Regions from separate parts of the Homo sapiens genome. Here region 1 is linked to region 2. Evidence: promoter capture Hi-C in 16 types of primary human blood cells and fetal thymus (Javierre and others, 2016). All regions are on one chromosome and are shown on one strand. Each heading gives the region's core, a stretch centred on a gene start or on the middle of the fragment in contact. The rest is flanking DNA. Distances are from core to core; before and after follow the strand shown. Region 1 overlaps LOC105370050 (a long non-coding RNA gene). Region 2 holds the start of NCOR2 (nuclear receptor corepressor 2).

What was found. The method cuts DNA at HindIII sites, captures the fragments that hold promoters and counts their contacts. A CHiCAGO score of 5 or more calls a contact.
Region 1: a contact is called between a fragment that was not itself captured here and the fragment with the promoter of NCOR2 in region 2, in 1 of 17 cell types (monocytes). The highest score is 9.7, in monocytes.

What each region holds. Positions count from the first base shown.
Region 1 is chr12:124,865,706-124,868,620 of GRCh38, reverse strand. It overlaps LOC105370050 (a long non-coding RNA gene), which reads right to left. Exons shown (of 3, transcript XR_945488.3): 2 at 1,945-2,023. Among named protein-coding and RNA genes, the nearest start is that of SCARB1, 3.3 kb to the right of the region's middle. RefSeq lists enhancers at 925-2,124, 2,553-2,722. The HindIII fragment of the contact is 4,035 bases long and covers 1-2,915 here.
Region 2 is chr12:124,566,298-124,569,274 of GRCh38, reverse strand. NCOR2 (nuclear receptor corepressor 2) reads left to right here and starts at 1,663. Exons shown (of 49, transcript NM_006312.6): 1 at 1,663-1,967. RefSeq lists enhancers at 1-210, 211-1,071, 1,238-1,287 and silencers at 1,408-1,657, 1,768-2,127, 2,148-2,257, 2,398-2,617, 2,818-2,917. The HindIII fragment of the contact is 7,570 bases long and covers 1-2,977 here.

The DNA.
Region 1 (2,915 bases), core at 210-2,709, 300 kb before region 2:
TGAGGGCTTTGGCTTTTATGCTGAATGAGGTGGGAGCCACGGAAAGGTTTCTTTCTTTTTGTTTTCTTGAGAGACAGGGTCTCACTGTGTTGCCCAGGCTGGAGTGCAGTGACACAATCACAGCTCACTCACTGCAGCCTCGACTTCCTGGGCTCACGTGATTCTCCCACCTCAGCCTCCTCAGTAGCTGAAACTAGAGGTGTGTGCCACTTTACCTGGCTAACTTTTTATTTTTTGTAGAGATGGTGTCTGGCTGTGTTGCCCAGGCTGATCTCGAACTCCTGGCCTCAAGGGATCCTCCTGCCTCAGCCTCCAAAAGCACTGGGATTATAGGCATGGGCCACCATGCCTGGCCATTTCTTTAAAATAACAGTTTTCATTGAGATATAATTTGCATATCATACATTCACCCATTTAAAGTATATAATTTGGCCAGGCATGATGGCTCACACTTGTAATCCCAGCGCTTTGGGAGGCCAGGGTGGGAGGATGACCAGAATTTTGAGAGCAGCCTGGGCAACAAAGTGAGACCCTGTCTCAACAAAAATGAAAACATCAGGTGTACATAGTGGCATATACTTGTTGTCCAAGCTAGTCAGGAGGCCGAGGCGGGAGGATGGTTTGAACCCAAGACTTCAAGACTGCACTCCAGCCTGGGTGACAGAGTGAGACCCTGTCTCTTGAAAAAAAGAAAAAGTAAATAAAGTGTGTAATTTGATGGTTTTTTGTATATTCACGGAGTTGTGCAACCATCATTACCATCACTTTTACCGTCACTTTTAGAACATTTTCACCACTCCAAGATGAAACCCCAAACCTGTAGCAGTCACTCCTCATTCTCCCCAGCCCCTGGCAACCACTGGTCTACTTTTTGTCCCCATAGATGTGCCTACTATGGACATTTTATATAAGCAGAATCATACATGTGGCCTTTGTGTCTGGCTTCTTTCACTTATCAATGTTTTCAAGGTTCATCCATGGTGTAGCACGCGTCAGCCCTTCATTCCTTTTTATGCTGAGTCATATTCCAGTGCGTGGTTATGCCACATTTTATTTACCTATTCACCAGCTGATGGGGGTGTGGGTTATTTTCACTGCTTGGCTGCTGTGAACATTTGTGTCCAGGCTTCCGTGTGGACATGCTCTTTCCTTTCTCCTGGGCATATACCCAGGAGTGGAACTGCTGGGTCTTAGGGGACCCCTATGTTTACCTTTTGAGGCTGCACCATTTTACAATCCCACAAGCACCTCAAGAGGCTTCCAACTCCTCCAGGTCTTTGCCTGCAGTCATTCTCCGTCTTTGATCACGAAAGGACTCTGAGCAGAGGAGGAAAAGCATCTGACTTGATTTTCCAGGAGCCCTGTGACACCATGTTGATCATATTTTGTTATCAGCACTCTTTCTTTTCTTCTGTATCTTCGACTTTCCCCAGGGCAAGACCTCTCTCTCAAACATGACGAAGTCTTTTTTTCCCTTCTTAAGCTGCCCTCCCTGCCACCGGAAGTGACTCCCCTCAGCAAGGCCAAGGTGGCTCACGTGTCCCATCACCCTTTCATCTCTGCCCTTCTCTCTCGAGTGACAGCATGGCGTGACATGAGGGCTCTCCAGCCATGGCCTTGCAGCCCTCTTGGGTAAGCATCACGTACATTTGGACCTTGAAGACTTGGTCATGAATCAGAGTTAGATTGGGTGAGATGGTCAAGGCAGGTCAGTATCAAGGAAGTGGAGGAGGGTGTCAGGGCCAGGCAGACCGCAGATTTTAGTTAACTGGCTAATTTCCGAGAACTACAAAAGTCATTAAAAAAAAAGGCAACTGCATAGCTGAAGGCTGTTGAAGGCCTTAAGGAATTCAATGAAGTGATATTAATTAATTAATCAATCGATCAGTTACTTGATTAATTAATGAGTTAATTAGCTGATTGAGTAAAGTATTTATTGAGTACCTGCTATGTGCCAGGCATTTTTCCAGGTGCTGGAGATACATCGATAAGCAAAACAGGGTCAGCTTCTGTCTCTCGGGAGCTGGAGGAGATGAACAAGGAAACAGATAAGACCATTTCACACAAAGCAAGGTGGCCTGACAGAGTGGGCTGGGACTCCTGTTTTCAACAGATGCAACAGCAAAGGCTTCTCTGAGGAGTGGGTTTCAGCTGAGCCCAGAAGAGGAGAGTGGGGAGCCATGGAAGGATCTAGGGGAAGCGTATCCTAGACAGAGGAACAGGAAGTGCAAAGTTCCTGACACAAGAAAAAGCTGGGGATGCTCAATGAACTGAAACAATGGGGGAGAGGGCAGGAGATGGAGGCAGAGAGATGGGCAGGCGCCAGTTCATGTGGGTCCGGAAAATAACGACGACACTCCCCAGCTCAGTTGCACTGACACATTCCAGGGACTGTTCTAAGCACTGGCACATTTTTTGACTTGTTTAATCCTCATGGTAGCCCTTGGAAAGGGGCTCTTCTAATCCCCGTTTCGTAGATGAGGAGACTGAGGCACAGAAAGGCCCAAACCACTTGCCCCAGGACTCCAATGTGGGAAACCCCAGAGCCTGGATTTCTCTGAACCTGTCCCCCGGGGCTACCACAGTCTCACCTCAGCCACTCTGACCTCCCTCAGGAGTTGGGCCCTGCCCCTTGGGGCACTGGACCATATTCGGCCTCCTTAGAGGAAGGCAGTGCCAGGCAAAGCTGTCTAACGAGAACATAGCAGGTGCTCTGTAAATATTGGTTCAGGCGAAGACATGTTGCTTAAGGATGGCCCTGCGAGAAGGCTGCTTTCTTCTGGAGTTAAATAAGAGGTTTAGAAAGCCTCCCTCGGAGCACTCAAGGACTGAGCCTGCCTTACCCACGTGCTGGGGACACCACCCTCCTGTCCCTGTGTAACCCAGGAGTCTCTTCTCAGTAACTTCATTCAGAA
Region 2 (2,977 bases), core at 414-2,913:
TGGCAGAGGAGCTCCCCCGCCCCCGCTTCCCTCTCCAAGACCCTTGGTGGGGGAGGTGGGGGATCAGGCCTTCCTTCTGCGGCTCCAGCTTTTTGCCTGTGGATTCGGACCGACTGGCTGGGCAGAACTGGAGCTGGTCGGGCCAAAACAAGGAGGTGGGGGGGGGGCACTGACCTATGACCCCTCCTGTTTCAGTCTGCAAACTGCTCCCCTCCACACCCACTTCCCTTTTGCCAGACATTGTCAGCCCCAGAGGCTCCCGCCAGCCCCCCAAAAGCTCATAATTAAAAGCCCGAGGGGGCAGAGAAGGACCTGGCTGCAGGGGAGCCCGGCAAACCCAGCATCCTGGCGGAGGCGGGAGGCCCGCCGGCCTCTGGAAACCACGCGGCTGCCTCCCCACCGCAGCCATTCCCCGCTCTCCCTGGGGGTTCTCAGATGTTGCCAGATGGCAGAACTGAATCTGCTGAGACGTCACTCCAAAAAAGGAAAGTTGAACTGAAAAAAAAAAAAAAAATTCAAACTCTCCAACATCTTAGGAGAAAGCAGAAGAGGAGGGAGGGAGGGAGGCTCCAGGCCCAGGGCTCCCAGTGCCCTCTGCTGTTCAAAGAGATCTGCCCTGGTTGGAGAGGGCAAACCTGGAGGGGGTGGGAGGAGGGGGTAAATGAGGACACTGGGTTGTCAGGGCGGCCAGGGGGGCCAGGTTCCTGCTGGAGCGGAGAGTGTCTGCCTGTGCGTGGGGGAGCGAGCACATGTGTGCCGTCTGTGACTGCGTGCTTGTGCAGGCCGGGCGTGTGTGGCTCCCAGGGTCACGCTTTGGGATGTGTGTGTCTGTGTGTGTGTGTGGGGGGGGCGGGGGGGACACAGGCTCGTTGCATTGTCTCCGCATTTGTGTCCCTGAATGTCCCCAAGTGGGACTTCACTCAACACATTCGTGAGTCCCTACTGCGATAGGGCAGTGAACAAAATAGAAATCTCTGCCCTCAGGAAACTGGCATTCTAGCGTCTGTGTCCTCCGGGGTGCTGTGAACTCGCGTGGGTGTCCCAGTATTTGTCTGTGTGAGATCTGACATCTCCGGTCCGTGGTGGGTGGTGAGTCTGCAGTGTGTTCGCCCGGGCTGGGTCTCGGGTCTGGGGAGGCCCAGCGTGTTCCTGCCTGGAGAGGGCTCTGCGCTACTGTCTGCTCCCGTCCCCAAGTGCCCCACTGGGCGTGCTCCTAAAAGGCCCTGTGTAGGGCCCTCCCTGCGCGCCCCCTCCCCATCCAGCGGCCACTCCAGAGTTATAATTTAATAGCTGAAACGCGATTCCAGTGAGGTACTGGGGCTGGAGAGGAGGAGGAGGGCCCCCGGGCCCGCAGGAGAAGAGGGAGGGGAAGGCTGGGAGGCGCTTCCCCCCTCCTTCCTCCTCGGGGAGCTGCCAAAAAGAAACTCGGCGTCGCGCCCAAGTGTGTGCGTGCGTGTCTGTGTGTGTGGCGGCGTGCGCGCGCGAGTGGGGACGCGCAGGGCCTGGAGAGAAGGCGCGGGCCCTTTAAGGAGCCAGAGGGGGCCGGGCCGGGGCGCGTCGCTGCGGGCGGGGAGCCGGGAGCAGGGAGGCCGAGCCACCGCCTCCCGGGCTCGCGCCCCGCCCCCTCCTCCCCCTCCCGCCGCCGCCGCCGCCGCCGCCGCCGCCACCGCCGCCGCGGCCGCCGGGGAGCGCGGAGCCGCGGGCAGGCCGGGCCGCACCGGAGCCCCGCGTCCGCCGGCGCCCCGCCCGAGCCCTGCGCCCGCGCCCTGCGCTCCGCGATGCGCGCCAACTTGCGGGCCGGGGACCCAGGGCCGGCGCCCTAGGAGGCGGCGGCGGGAGGATCGCGTCCCGACCCGAGGCCGGGCCTGCTGCGCGCCCCCAGCCCGATCGGCACCGCCACTTGCCTGAGCGCCCCGGCGGCCCGAGCGCGCCCCAAGCCCGGGCGCCACCGCTGCCACCTCCGCGAGGTGAGTTGGGGCCGAGGGTCCCCGCGAAGGGCGGGGGGAGGCGCGGAGCGCGCTTCCGGGGGATCCGGGGAGGATCGGGCGGCGCACGCGGCGGAGTTGGCGGGGCCCCTGCACTCCCGAGTTGGCGCTCTCGGGGGGTGGCCTGCTGGGGAGCAAGGCGCCCCGCCGACACTGCGGCCCGCGTGCTCGGGGGCGCCGGGGAACTTAGGGGAACTCCAGCTCCCTAGCGAGGGGGCGGGAAGGAGGGAAGTGGCGTTGGGGTGGGCGGGGGGCGCGCTGGAAATGCACAGAGCGGCCCCCCACAGTGTGCGCCGGCTCTGGGGACTTGGCCGCCAGGCGTCCCTTGTACCCGGTGTAGCCCCGGACCTGGCGGGGCGACACTGCGCCTTATTTTCCATCGGGCAGCGCGGGTTTGAAAGCCCTTGGAGATGGTACCCCTAGCTCCCTGGCCTGGCTGTTGTGGAGGGGCGCATGAGGGTCTCTCACCAGCCGAGGGGGAGAGCCAGCCTTGTCCCTCCTAGGCGTGGGGCCACGGGGCGCTGGGCGGGGTCCCTCGGGAGAGTCGCCCCTGGTCCCCCTCCCCCGCGGGCCGGTGTTCCTGGTGTCTGGGCCTGCCTCCCGTGGCTGGTGACGCCTCATTGGGCCGCCTCCTAGTCCCTCCCCCGGGCTGTGCGGATACTTGGGATGCCACTACTTTGCGAAGTTGGAATTCAGAGCTGATCCCACTTGGGCACGACTGGGAAGACCCAGACCCTTGTCTAGAGGGCAGCTTCCTCAGAGGCCTGCGGGGAGTGAGGGCACCCGTGGGGTACGCCCTCCCCGCCCCAGACACTTGCAGGAGGAGCAAGCCGAGGGCGGGAGGGCACGGCGGGCGGGAGGGAGAGACAGGCTGTACCTGGGAGCTGCTGTCGCCCGGGCCCAATTAGCGTGGGGCGCCCGGCGTTATTTTTACATTGTAGGTTTATTTTTTTGGAAGCGAGTGTCCTCCCGCCGCCTGTCGCGCGCTCCGG